5 separate regions of the Homo sapiens genome follow, and all the other regions are linked to region 5. The links are contacts of gene promoters, found by promoter capture Hi-C in human tissues and cell types (Jung and others, 2019). All regions are on one chromosome and are shown on one strand. The core of a region is centred on a gene start or on the middle of the fragment in contact, and the rest is flanking DNA. Distances in the headings are between cores, read along the strand shown.

Region 1 (2,700 bases), core at 160-2,659, 260 kb before region 5:
TTGTAGTAAGTAGCTCAGAACGCTCAGATTTGAATTACTCTGTTTATGCAAGAAGTCATTTATTAAATAAAGATGATGTTAGTAATTTTTAAATCAGTGGTTTGAGTCAGCTTTTTGGTTTGTAGACCAAAAAAGATTTAGTTACTTTGATGAAATGTACTCAACTACTCTCCAATTTTAAGTCAACTGCTTAAATTGTCCAGACATGTTATTTAAGGAATGGTTTCTATATTTGTTTATCATTGAAAGACATTAGACTATATATATTTAAACGTATAGTCAATATATTAAGCACAGAACCTTTCAATTATACAGGTGTCTTAAGAACCCCTGGTCCTGGAGGCTGGTGTTGTTAGTAATATTTAGAGCACTGAATTGTCCAACTAAGAAAAATTAAATTTTAACTTGATTTATACTCAAACATAGCTCTTAGAGAAATTTAAGGGATTTTCCTTTGTGCATGAAAATCTATCAAAAACACAGCCGTCTACCAATTAGATAAGAAGTAAAAAGGTAGTCTTTTAAAAAGACTAAAGCTTTTCTAAGCCAAAAATGAGGGGATTTTCTTTTCTATTTCAGTGTAAAACCTGTTCTGAGCCAAAAAAGATAACCAGTTCCTCTGCCATCTATGACAATCCAAATCTCATCAAACCAATTCCAGTGAAACCCAGTGAAAACCAGCAACAGCGTATACCTCAGCCCAACCAGGTACGGAGTTCTCTGCTTGTCATATTCAGTGTGTCTCTAGAATTCTTAAAGAACTTTGACCCAGAATATAGTCAGGGGAGGGCCTGGTGTTGTTGAAGAATGCTTTCAGGTAAACCCAAGAAAGCGGGATTTCAGAATACAGATTTTTTCATTATTAATAACTTACTCTTCCTAGAAGAGGGTTAAAGTTTTTACTTTTGGCATATACCACATTCTGTGCTAATCTCTTGTGAACTTGAACTCCTTAAAAGATAATGTATTTTTTAAAAAACAACAAGCCAGCACAGTGGCTCAAGCCTGTAATCCCAGCACTTTGAGAGGCTGAGGCGAGAGGATCATTTGAGGCCAGAAGTTTGAGAGCAGCCTGGGCAACACAGTGAGACTCCATCTCTACAGGAAAATTAGCCAGGCATGATGGCGTGCACCTGTAGTGCTAGCTGCTCTGGAGGCTGAGGCGGGAGGATCCCTTGAGCTTAGGAGTTTGAGGTTACGGTGAGCTATGGAATGCGCCACTGCACTCCAGCCTGGGCAAGAAAGCAAGACCATGTCTCAGAAAACAAAAACAAACAAACAAGCACCCTAGAAAACTAATAACATTGTCAGAGATGACAGAAACATTACCCATTGGGTCCATATTCTTCTGGGGTGGGTGGCTTCCCAAGGCCACCTGGGAGAACCACCAAGGACACAGAGTTGATTTGAGCACTTCTGAGCACCTCCTCTGTGCCAGATGCAGAGCTAGCACTGTAGACTGGGGTAGCTGCCGCCGAGAGCTCAGAGTCCAAAGGAATGGTATAAAACTCCTCTTCAGATATGATGACTTGTCACTGTCTTTGCAATCTAAATTAGAAATATTACAGCAGCTTTTGTGTTAGTGTATATATATATATATATACACTTCAGAATAGTACAGCAATGACAAAAATTGTCAATCTGTAGGTCCCATTAATGATTGTAAATATAATATTGCTGTGTCATTTTATCATGACTATGACTAATTAAAAAGATTTTCTTAAAGGAATTAGTTTATATCAATTTTGAAAATGAACATGGAGCCAAAAGACATAAAGACTAGTAATGAAAATCTTATATTGAATTTTTAAAGAAAAGAAGTCTTCTAATTTTTTAGCTTTCTTTTTATTGCTTGTTTTATGGAAAGTTTTTATTATATTTTAATAGCGAGACCTGAATATGTTGACTTTAAAATGAAGCTTGTGGTTTTTTTTCTTTCCTCTTTTATTTTTTTTTTTGAGACAGATTTCATTCCTGTTACCCGGGCTGGAGTGCAGTGGCACCATCTCAGCTCACTGCAACTTGTGTCTCCTGGGCTCAAGCAATCCTCCCACCTCAGCCTCCCAAGTAGCTGGGACTACAGGCGTGTGCTGCCACATCTGGCAATTTCTGTATTTTTTGTAGAGATGGGGTTTTGCCATGTTGCCCAGGCTGGTCTTGAACTCCTTAGCTCAAGCAGTCTGCCTGCCTTGGCCTCCCAAAGTGCAGGAATTACAGGCATGAGCCACTGTGCCTAGCCTCATGTTTTCTCAGTGCAACAATGCAGAAAGCAACAGAAGTAAAGAGCAAGAAGGAAGTAGCTTTGTAACTGGCTGGGCCAAGGTAGATTTTATGTATCCAAGGACTTTTTAAATCCTACCAGTATATATTTGAAAGGATCAAGTTAGATTTAAAGTCTTCCGTTTCTTTCCAGCCCTTGATTTCCATAATTCTGTGAAAAACTACTAGAAATTCTGAAATGCTTATATTCCTTTGTATTCTCATATTACTCTGCAGGCTTAGATGGGCTTCCTATTGAACAGATTGTTTATTTTTTTAGTGCATATAATTTCCTACCAAGGTGGTTCCCAATCTGTGAAACCCCAGGCCCTTGAAGATCTTATACCTGTTTTATCGGTCAACAGATATTAAAATATAATAACTGTTTTGGGGGTGCAAGGGGAGCATGCTGTGAAAATTTTTGACATTAAAAAGGGGATC
Region 2 (2,700 bases), core at 144-2,643, 300 kb before region 5:
ATAATAGGTGGTTATCCTATTATTTAGAGAATAAATTTTTATGAGAGAAAAAAATAAAGCTATTGAAACTATAATATGACTTACTAATGGCAGGTCCTGTGAAATGAAAAGTTTTGCAATATAGAAAAATATTGTGTTTTCTCCTCATGTTTCTTTGCCGAAAGGTACACTTTATCAATTGTAGTTTATTACTAAAGACTTGGAATTCCAACTCCAGGACCCTTTCCTTCTCTACAGAAATGCCAGTTTGAATTGTTTATAGTTTGAATTGTTTTGTGTGCTTATAGTTATGTCAGGGTTTTTTTTGAGATTATTAGATTTTATGTCAAATTAATATATAATTTAAGTCCTAATAAAATAACTACAAAGTTACCTGTAATCATCACTTTTGGTTGCTTTTATTTTGGATAAATACATGGTCTGATCAGTTATAGGTAATATTTTATTTTAAATTCTTATTATAGATCACATATTAACTACTATACCAAAAATATAAAAACACAAACTCTCTTTAATGCATCAATTTAAAAAATAACCTTCTTAAGTCCCACAGGGTTTATCTGATAGAAAATACTATTTAGATCTAATAAACATACACCTTGGTTCTAAGCGTGTGCTGTCCACTATGATAGTCACTAACTACTGTGGCCGTTTAGTACCTGAAGTGTGGCTAGTCTAAACGGAGCTGCACTGTGAGTGTCCAACAGGCACCAACTGTCAGACAGTGCAAAAAAAAAAGGAAAAAACCTCAATTATTAATTATTTTATATTAACATGTTGAAATGACAATATTTTGGATAAATTGGGCAAAATAAAATATATTATTAATTTCACTTGCTTCTTTGTATTTTTTAATTTAAAATAACAGATGTGGCTCACGTTCGTGGTTCCCCTCATATTTCTATTGAATGGCACTGTTCTATTTTAATTTGTTTTTCATATTTTATTTTATGTTTCCGTATTTTATAATGATTTTCATTTATTTTACCATGTTTAATAATCACAATTTTGTGGAGTAGACATTTTCATTGCCATTTTGCAGATGAGGAAACTGAGACTCCAGTGAGGAGGCAGACTGTGTAAAAACCCACAGATTCTGATTTCACTTCCGTTGCTTTTTCCACACCACCTGTACTGCTCTACTATTAAACATGGATGCAAATTAAAGGTAGCCTTTGGGATGCATATTAAAATGTTTCTAATGAATTTCCATACAAAAGAAATAGAATCAGTTGAACAACAAAGAGTGAAAGGGAATGGATCTATTTACTTTTCTGGATTCATTTTGCCTTTTTTTTTTTTTTGTCCTTTCTATCTGATACTGATTGCCTTTGCACCCAGAGTCATTTGGTTTTATGTTGTTTGCAAAAGCCTTTTCAATCCCGGGCATCAAAGGTACACAGAAGGGTTTACCACAGGTGCTGTCAGAGTGTCAGATACCTCTTAAACGTTTTAATAGAATTCAAATATGTTATATAATAATTATGTATGGTTTACATGTTCTTTGGTGGCATATAGATTGGTTGGCCTTTCTTTGGGCAAGGAACTCAGCTTTACTCAGGATTGTTTTTGTAAGACTATTTCCTCAAGATATTCTGTATAGTCAAGAATCTCTCTGTCTGGTCTTTGCATTTCACATTGGCTTATGTATGTCATAGGCCATATTTGGGCATTTCAAATAGACAAAGGTAGAATTGATAGAGGTTTGTGGTGAGGTTTTTTAGATTCATTAGGAGAGAAAAAAAAAATCCCTTTCTTGAATTGGATGAATGTAGAAGAGCAAAATAAAGAAATGAAAATCCCAAACTCTCTTCATTTAATCAGCCAAAAAAAGATGCTTGATAAATAGAGTAACTTCATTCAAACACAAAATAGATTACTTTATTACAGAAAAGGGTTTATACATTGTTTAAAGGGTTTAAACATTGTTAAAATGGGGTTTGACCTGTATGAACTTTAAAAGTAAGTAAGATAGCTGTTAAAGTTAGGGCAAACATTTCATTCATTCATTTATTCAACAAACATTTACTGTCTGCCAAACACTATGTTCAGGTTTTATATGGGTTATCCCATAACTTTTTCTTGAAAATACTGTTATTCCTGTTTTATAAATGAGAATACTAAGGTTAAAGGGATTAAGTGATACGCTGTGGTCCATGACTATTTTGAGATGGAAACACCACTTGAACCAAGAAACCTTAACTTCGAGACCCAAGGCCCAAGCAGTGAAGTACTAGCAGTAAATAATGCATTTGAGCCAAGTTTATCATTTACAAACACTTAGTTATTTTAGAGTACGCTCCAAGGTTTAAAAAGCAAGTTTTTTTAGCCTTGAGATTCAAGCATATATCAGTTATTAGAGAGATTAGTTTTTACCAGATTAAAAACTAATTTAACAAAAAGCTGAATTAGACCACTTCTTTTGTAATATTCCCATATAGTAATCACTTACTGTGTTTTTCATTTCGCAACTAAATAAGATATTAGCATATGGAAATATATTTTCCCAAATATAATACTTAAGTTATAGACAGCAATGACATGGGGATTCCTTTCTTTTCTTGCTTTTTCAATTGAGACGGAGTCTTGCTCTATTTGTCCAGGCTGGAGTGCAGTGGCACAATCTCGGCTTATTGCAGCCTCCACCTCCCAAGTTCAAGCAATTCTCCTGCCTCAGCCTCTGAGTAGCTGGGATTATAG
Region 3 (2,700 bases), core at 137-2,636, 350 kb after region 5:
ACACCTAAGAATTTCGTAACTAGCTAAGTAATACTTCAAGTAGAATGGCAAATAAACACTATCAAGCATGCAAACATAAAACAAGAAAACCAGAATTCAGCATCAGTCTTTCCTGAAATAGTCAAGTGAAGATAAAATTAAATAAGCAAAACGATACAGCAAAAAATTCAGGGATAGGGAAAATGTGGCAAAAGGTGTTAAGTGCTGAATTTAACTCCCAGACTAAGTAGCCTGGGAGTTATAAAATAAGATGTAAATATTATAAACCTTGGTAAAGCTGATATAAAACTATATCATTAAAAACTGGTGAGAAGAAGTGATAATTTCTTCATCTTTTAGAGCATGGCATGAATTAATACTGATTAAAATAAAAATAAAAGATGCTGTTGTAAAACATAACCCCAATCTCTATCTCTTTTCTTAAACTTGGAAGGATGGCTTAGGAATTCTCCTTTATAGTAAAGAAATATTCTGGCCAGGCGTGGTGGCTCACGCCTGTAATCCCAGCACTTTGGGAGGCCGAGGCGGGCAGATCACGAGATCAGGAGATTGAGACCATCCTGGCTAACACGGTGAAATCCCATTTCTACTAAAAAATAGAACAAAAATTAGCCGGGTGTGGTGGTGGGCACCTGTAGTCCCAGCTACTCGGGAGGCTGAGGCAGGAGAATGGCGTGAACCCAGGAGGTGGAGCTTGCAGTGAGCCCAGATCACGCCACTGCACTCCAGCCTGGGCGACAGAGTGAGACTCCGTCTCAAAAAAAAAAAGAAGAAATATTCTACTGAAATTCTCTTTATTCTGCTAATGTCAAGTAAAATTAAATTCAATTTTTATTTAAAATGGCATGTTATATGTTAATTTTTTTCTATATGTGCATAGGAATATGACAGGAATCCTGCTTACCTACTACAAATAATGATTATTTTCTAGGCAATTGACTTGGGGGCTGTTTTTTTCTTTATTCTTTCTACTTTGTACTACTGCTTAAATTTATAAAAGAATAACAAATAAGTAAATCATATAAGTGACTGAAGGAGCACTAAAATACACAAGAAAAAGCATGTGTTCTGGAGCTGGACAGTGCCGCTTACTAGTTGTATGACCCTAGACAAGCAGCTTCCTGAACTTCCTTGATTTTAACTGTCAAATGGAAATATAAATGTGTAAACTTAACGGAGTTGTTATTAAGATTGAGATAGTGTAAAATAATAATTATACCTCTCTTACAGACAGGAATCTGGCACATGGCAGGCCCTTAACAAATGTTAGTTTTCCTAGAGAGCTCAGGTTCCAACAACAGAAAGAGAAAGAAAAAGTGGAATTACCACTCTGGGTTTTAGATTTCTTTTTAACTGTATCTTTTAACCTTTAGTCAAGAGTTAAATGAATACTTATTTTAGTTCCCAAGATTTGTGTGGCTGAGGATTGTCAGCTTTGTTAAAACACAGTGATCAAAAGGCACCGTCAGGGTTTCAGGGTTTCACAGCACAAGCCTTCATGTGGTTCCAGTCTCTCCTTTCCTCCTTCAGAGATCAACAGCTTCTTCACTCAATGCAAAGAGAACACTGTGTTAAAACCCCTCTTTCCCCCCTTTCTCCCACTGAGATGCTGACGGAATCTACTGCATACTCAAAGTACAGCTCATGATTAGCGAAGAAAAGCCACCGCCACAGAACCAGGCCAGGTATCTTTTAAAAATAAGTAAATAAATGACAGACCCCACCCCAACCCTGACTCCCCTCTTTGAGTCCCATAAAAGTATTGTTGTATAATCAGATGTTTTATTTATAAACAAAGATGAAAATGTTTTTACAGGCTGGGCGCGGTGGCTCACGCCTGTAATCCCAGCACTTTGGGAGGCCGAAGTGGGGGGATCACGAGGTCAGGAGATCGAGACCATCCTGGCTAACACGGTGAAACCCCGTCTCTACTAAAAATACAAAAAATTAGCCGGGTGCAGTGGTGGGTGCCTGTAGTCCCAGCTACACGGGACACTGAGGCAGGAGAATGGTGTGAACCTGAAAGGCGGAGCTTACAGTGAGCGGAGATCGCGCCACTGCACTCCAGCCTGGGTGACAGAGCAAGACTGTCTTAAAAAAAAAAAATGTTTTTACATATGAAATCTACAATTTAAACGATAAGCTTCAGAATATACCTTATTTCAGCATACTGGCAGGTAGTTTAGAAGCTTTAAAGGAAAGTCCTGCAGTCACTGGCATTATATGATGTGTTTAATCTTTCCTAGTAATATGAAGAATGAAAAAGCATCTAAGACTTGGGTGAGAAGTGAGACAGCGTAAGTGGCACAGATGTTCCGAAAGGATAGTTAAGTGAACGACTGATGAAAACACCGAGCCACTAACCACCACAGAACTCTCTAAAAATAACTCAATATCAATACTAAGATAACTAAACTCAAGTTACAAGAGAATCTGCTTCAGGGAAGAACAGACATACAGTTTTTGTACTAGATACGATATTCCTGGTGCAGCTCATAGGAATCTTTTGAATTAAAAGCAGCATGATGACTGTATGGGATAGTTTCATGCCAAAATAATCAGCGGAGCACTGGAACTGAAATATAAAGACTAACACCAAAGCTGCTAGAATTTGAATGACCCATGAACTAATTTAGCATTAGTGACACAGATAAAAGGGGGGAAAATACTAGTTGGGACGAATGGCACTCCCTTTTGAAG
Region 4 (2,700 bases), core at 197-2,696, 320 kb before region 5:
TTTTGGTGACCCAGATTGCCTGGTAGATCAGGTACTGTTCTCAGAAATGTTTTAAACAGATGGGCATGGTGGCTCACGCCTGTAATCTCAGCACTTTGGGAGGCTGAGAGGAGCGGATCACCTGAGATCAGGAGTTTGAGACCAGCCTGGCCAACATGGTGAAACCCTGTCTCTACTAAAAATACAAAAAATTAGCCAGGCGTGGTGGCAGCACCTGTAATCCCAACTACTCGAGAGGCTGAGGCAGGAGAATTGCTTGACCCCGGGAGGAGGAGGTTGCAGTGAGCCAAAATCGTGCCATTGCACTCCAGCCTGGGCAACAAGAGTAAAACTTCGTCTCAAAAAAAAAAGAAAAAGAAAAATGTTTTAAACAAACCCATTGTCACAATCAATACATTGATACATTGTACAATAGTTAGTTTTAGTGTATCTCCTCCATTAAACTTTAAGCTCCTGGAAGGCAGGGTCTGTATTTATTTTGTTGTACTGATGTATTTTGTTGTACTGAGTACTGTTGTTTGACAGTACTCGGGACCTGATAAGTACTTGGCACCTAATAAGACACTCAGGAAATGTTTGTCAAATCAAAGAACAAACAAATGAACAAATATATGAATGATTTCAACCAGGAGACACCGAACTAAGAAATGAAGTCATTCATGTCTTTTTGAATAAAGGTAATTATTTTAAAGATGGAGCACCCCATTTCCCACTGAATTGGTCATTATAAGCCTTGATAAATCCTCCTGGTAGAAAGAGCATTGCCTGGAAATCGGAGACCTGAAGTCTAGTCCTGTTCTGTCATTACCAAATAACAAAGTCAGTGATTTGTATTTATTAAGTGCTTGATATGTCCCAGGTACTTTATTTGTATTTTCTTGTTTAATCCTCAAAAATAATCTTACCAAATAGATATGATTAGCAACCTCATTTTATTGAGAAGGAAGCTGAGGTTTACCTAGGACAGGTGAACTGCCCAAGTACCATACTAGCTGAGAGAGATCTGAACCCAGGAAGTGCAGAGGCTGCCAACCAGGCTGTCCAGTGGTTCTCCATTCTGCCTGCTGTTTGAATCACTTTGAGACTGACCAGGGCCCAACTTCAGAATCCTATTAACTCCTCTGGATGAGCCCTGGCCATGGGGCTTCTTTTTAAATGCCTTCCAGCAATTTTAAAGTGTGGCCAGGGTTGAGAACTTTCGCCCTAGGCTCTCTCTACTCTATGCCATTGTATCCTCCCAAAAGCCACTTCTCTGTGCTTCAGTCTCTTCTGTACAAAGAGGTGGCTGAAGCCACCTATCTTGGCAATAATTCTAGCTTGAATGCCTACAAATTATCCCTGCCCTTGCTCCACTTCCCACCTTAGGCCCTGGCAAACAGGGGACTCCTAGACTCTCCACATCTGACTCCAGACAGCTTTCCCCTGAAGTTTTCAGCCTCCACTACAGAAAACTTGGGGCTGGGATAAGCTAACACAGTCTTATTTTGTTAGATGCTGTACAGCAAGTAAAAGCTGTAGCTTCTTAAGAATAAGGAGGATAAATGTAGCCCAACGGGTGCCCCTTGTCAGCCCTAATTGAGGATGGTCTTTCGGCACCAGGTAAAGGGAGAGAGAGTACAGAAGCAGAGTCCCCTGACTGGTAAACTAGCCCTTTCATAGAGCAACATGGTCTTCTCAGCCCTGCCTCAGAGGGATGGGTTTGGAGAAGCAGAAGATCCAGTCTGTTTTCTTGGGAAAGGAAACTCCAAGAAGGAGAACAGGAGAAAGCTGAGCAGGTAAAAACTACTGGTGGCTCAAGGATATACTATTTGCATAGGTGAATCCCTGGGCCAAGACCTGCCAGTCCGTGAGCAGGAAGGGATTGCTCCCATTCCCAGTGCTCTTGGGAGGCTCTGAGTCTGACTAGCTCCAAGGCCAGTGGGGACAAGGTGGCTTTAGCATGACACCTATGGCACTACCCAGACAAGTCTCTGGCTCCTCTGTAAGGCCTAAAGCTCAAGCCAACCAGAAAAGTCTTATGTCCAAGAATAACTGAGACCAGCCTCTAACTCTTAGGACCATTCTACCCTGGTCTAGGCACAAAGACAGGAGGTACAGTGTCTTCAGGTCGATACACTTGGCAATTCATGTAAAGAAACTGGAGCCTCTCTTGGGCCTCTGCCATGCTCCCATAGCATCCCAAACTTTTCACACTCAACGCACTTTATTTTGATTACCTGCTTATGTGTCCATTTTCCCCGTGAGACTCTAAGTTCTAGGAAGGCAGGGAATGTGCCTGTCTTGTTCACTGCAATATTCCCAGCTCCTAGCCCGGTGCCTGTCTCATGGTAAGAGCTTCATAAATATTCATTGAATGGACAAGTGATTAAATGTAAAGGTTATCTCATAAGCGAATAAGCAATACTTGCTACCTACTCCATGGGAAAGTGCTGAGCCATGAGTTGCTATGCTTATTATAAGAACTCTCCCATTATAGACTAAACACAGGCTTATTTGGGTTAAAAAAAAAAAAGATGCCTATTTTTCTGACAGTTTGTTGTTTTCTTCTAAAGTCCATATAATTTTTAATAAAAGCGAACAAAACCAAACAGTGGTTTCAGTGTTTGGGGTTGTTTATAAATACACTAATACTGAAGGCCCACGGAGCCAGCCCTGTTAATAACACGGGCCTGGCTGGCTGCAGTCCTGGTCACTGCTCCT
Region 5 (2,700 bases), core at 50-2,549:
ATCAGAACGGATGAAAACATCTAGGAATTACCTAAGAGTCGTTTAAGGAGACATAAGGGTGGCCTTTGATAAGAGGTCACTTCAAACTTTCAGAACTGACAAGACGTATAGCCTCCCCCCAAAAAATAATGCTATGGGTAGATGGATGCTTTTTTCTGAAGGAATTTTTAGCATTTCATTTGGAAAAGTTCTGTGATCAAATAATGCTAAATGTTATGACAGCTTTCTTGGCGTTTAAAGGGATTCTCTGGGTGAGGGGAAGGGGTGATAAAAAAAAAAAAAGTCTGCTTTTGGAACAGAAATGGGGGACAATAACCAAGGCTCAGAAACCCAGAGTCAAAAAATTAAAAGAACATCTTATTTTAAAAAAAAAGTCAACAACCTGCAATGAAGTCACCGTACCCCCATAAAATCCCAACTGTGCATTTAAATCTTTCTACCAAAATTCACTTTTGGACCATCTTATGAAGTTGTCAAAATTTCAGAGGCAAACGCTTAAATCAAGATCAAAAGCCAGGAGGAAAAAAGAGCTAACAGTTTCCAACCCAAACTCTCTCCGAGCCCCCTAAAAACTGATTTATAACCCTGTCATCGGTAATTTTAGAAGAAGCGAACACTGACGGACGGGGGCTTGGGAAAACAGGACTCCAGGTACCAAGCAGGCTGCCTGACGCGCCACCTGAAAAAGGTGAGGGAACTCTTCCCCACCCCAGTCACTGTGAAAGTAGCGCTGAGAGAGCCCATCCCAAGCCTCCACCAAACAAATTCCTAGAAGTGATAAAAACAGACAAGAGACGAAGAGGGGCGGGCAGATCCTCTCCGCGGGCAGGGAGCTGGAGCAACTGCACCCGAAGGTGAGCAGAGGGCAGCAGGCTCCGACCCTCCGCCGCGAAAGGCGAGGCGAGGGGAACAGCGGGCGCCGGACTCCTCCGACAGCGGTCGCAAGGAGGGCGGCTCCAGGTCCCCACACGGCCGACCCTCAGGCCAAGGCGCGCCGGGCGGCAGGTCAGAGTTAGGAATCAAGTTGCGGGCCGGGCCGAGAGCGCGCTCTCCCGCCCGCGCCAGGGACATTCGCCCCTCAGCTCTCACCTCCCCCCGACCCCAAGCTCTCCCTCTGCGCCCAGGAAACGGCGCCCACACTCCAGAGACCCTCACCCGGAGCCCGTCGCCGCCTCACCGCGTGTCTCGGACTTCTTGGGAGCCACCGCTGAGGGGAGGGGGGAGGAGGGGGGAACGGAGGAGGGAGGGGGCCAAGCCCGGTGTAGCCGCCGCCGCTGCCGCCGCCGCGATGCCGCTTCTGGAATCGCGCTCTCGCCGCCGCGACAGCGACCGCCGCCGCCGCGTCTCCCCGCCCCCACGACCGCACGTCGCCGTGACGCGCATCGCACGAGGCGGTTCGAGCCAATAAGACCACACGCCGTGCGCAGCCGCGCTGTCCTAAACCGGAAGCCGCCCCTCTGACCGCTCTAAAACCTGGGTGCATCGTGGGAGCTGTGGTTCGGCCAGGAACTTAGCGAAAACTATACTGGGTGTTGAGGGCCGGAGGAGCGTGCGCTCCTTAGGCGCTCACACAACTCCTCGGAGTTTTTTCTCCCACCGAAAAAGGAAGCAATTTGGAGCTGAGGAGGAGGGGGCCGCCCCGGCTCGCGGATGCTTTTCGCAGTCTCTATGGATACTGGCTACACACTTTGGGCAAGAGCCAGAATTTGAGGATTTAGGCTGGATCGTGTGTCTCTGCCAAGGGCTGATAGGATGCTGAGCGTCGTCTGTGAAGACTGCGGAAAGAAATCCAAAAGCATTAGCCCAGTTTTGCCCAGAGCAATAGTGTTTGCCTTTTATTACCTTATTAAAGATTATGATTTATGCTCTACCACTTCTATTTTTTTTAAAACCCAGTCACTCTTAAAATACATATAATTCAGAGCGATTTTTAAAATGATGTTAATGTAATGGTATATCAGAACCTACTTAAGCACTAAATACCTGCGTCCATTTACCCAGAATGAGTAAGTAATTTTCCACAAGTCATCTTTACGTTGAGTTCTAACTTCTTAGAAGCCAAGAACAGATTTGGTTACGTACTTATTCTATAAGAAAAGTGAATATAAGAGTTAGTCTGCGTAGAAAAATAGTTCTTTACATTCAGTAGGAGGGGGAATTTATCACATTCTTAAGGCGTAAATGCCTTAACTATCAAAATTCTTGTTATTGACTAAAGGAAATCCATACGATTTAGGGAAAGTCTGTGCCCACGGCTTACTGTCCTTACCTTTGGACCACAGCAAGAGATAACAAAGGGTGCAGGGAAAAGCTGACAGGTCTTGAGGGAGCTGGAGTCGGATATATGACGAAAAAAACAAAAATACAGAAGTCTTCATTATGGAAATGTAAGTTTTAAAAAGTAAAGCTACTAAAATCACAAAGAACATGATTAAGATGGCAATAATACAGAACTAAGGCCCACTCATTTAAGCTTGAAAGAGATAAAACTAGTAGAAATTAAAATTAGGAAATAAATGTTAAAGGAACTAATTTCCTCCAAGGAGTGGTTTACATTGAAAATATAATTTTTTTAAGTTTACATAATTTGTGAAAGACATAATAATAATGACTTCTATGTTCCCAGGTAAAGATGTAAAGCTTTTGAGGTTGAAATCAAGGAAGACAATTGTACACCTCCTCAGCACATCAGAAACAATA

Evidence for each region. The method cuts DNA at HindIII sites, captures the fragments that hold promoters and counts their contacts. A contact is called where the count stands out against the background at its distance.
Region 1: a fragment that was not itself captured here is called in contact with the fragment with the promoter of ADIPOR2 in region 5 in 4 of the 25 tissues and cell types used here (IMR-90 fibroblasts, aorta, hippocampus and 1 more).
Region 2: a fragment that was not itself captured here is called in contact with the fragment with the promoter of ADIPOR2 in region 5 in 1 of the 25 tissues and cell types used here (spleen).
Region 3: a contact is called between a fragment that was not itself captured here and the fragment with the promoter of ADIPOR2 in region 5, in 1 of the 25 tissues and cell types used here (aorta).
Region 4: a fragment that was not itself captured here is called in contact with the fragment with the promoter of ADIPOR2 in region 5 in 1 of the 25 tissues and cell types used here (lymphoblastoid cells).

The regions. Positions count from the first base shown.
Region 1 is chr12:1,953,440-1,956,139 of GRCh38, reverse strand. It overlaps DCP1B (decapping mRNA 1B), which reads left to right. Exons shown (of 9, transcript NM_152640.5): 6 at 580-708. Among named protein-coding and RNA genes, the nearest start is that of LINC00940, 18 kb to the right of the region's middle. RefSeq lists an enhancer at 884-2,083. The HindIII fragment of the contact is 3,737 bases long and covers 1-2,700 here.
Region 2 is chr12:1,989,589-1,992,288 of GRCh38, reverse strand. The region is part of intron 3 of DCP1B (decapping mRNA 1B); the gene reads left to right. It also overlaps a transcript of CACNA1C not described here. Among named protein-coding and RNA genes, the nearest start is that of DCP1B, 14 kb to the left of the region's middle. The HindIII fragment of the contact is 7,991 bases long and covers 1-2,700 here.
Region 3 is chr12:1,343,256-1,345,955 of GRCh38, reverse strand. All of the region lies in intron 15 of ERC1 (ELKS/RAB6-interacting/CAST family member 1), which reads right to left. Among named protein-coding and RNA genes, the nearest start is that of LINC00942, 160 kb to the left of the region's middle. The HindIII fragment of the contact is 3,540 bases long and covers 1-2,700 here.
Region 4 is chr12:2,014,087-2,016,786 of GRCh38, reverse strand. It overlaps CACNA1C-IT1 (CACNA1C intronic transcript 1), which reads right to left and starts at 116. Exons shown (of 3, transcript XR_001749433.2): 1 at 1-116. It also overlaps a transcript of CACNA1C not described here. The HindIII fragment of the contact is 3,786 bases long and covers 1-2,700 here.
Region 5 is chr12:1,689,669-1,692,368 of GRCh38, reverse strand. ADIPOR2 (adiponectin receptor 2) reads right to left here and starts at 1,299. Exons shown (of 8, transcript NM_024551.3): 1 at 1,178-1,299. RefSeq lists silencers at 997-1,086, 1,107-1,406 and enhancers at 905-1,483, 1,567-1,616, 1,637-1,796. The HindIII fragment of the contact is 10,259 bases long and covers 122-2,700 here.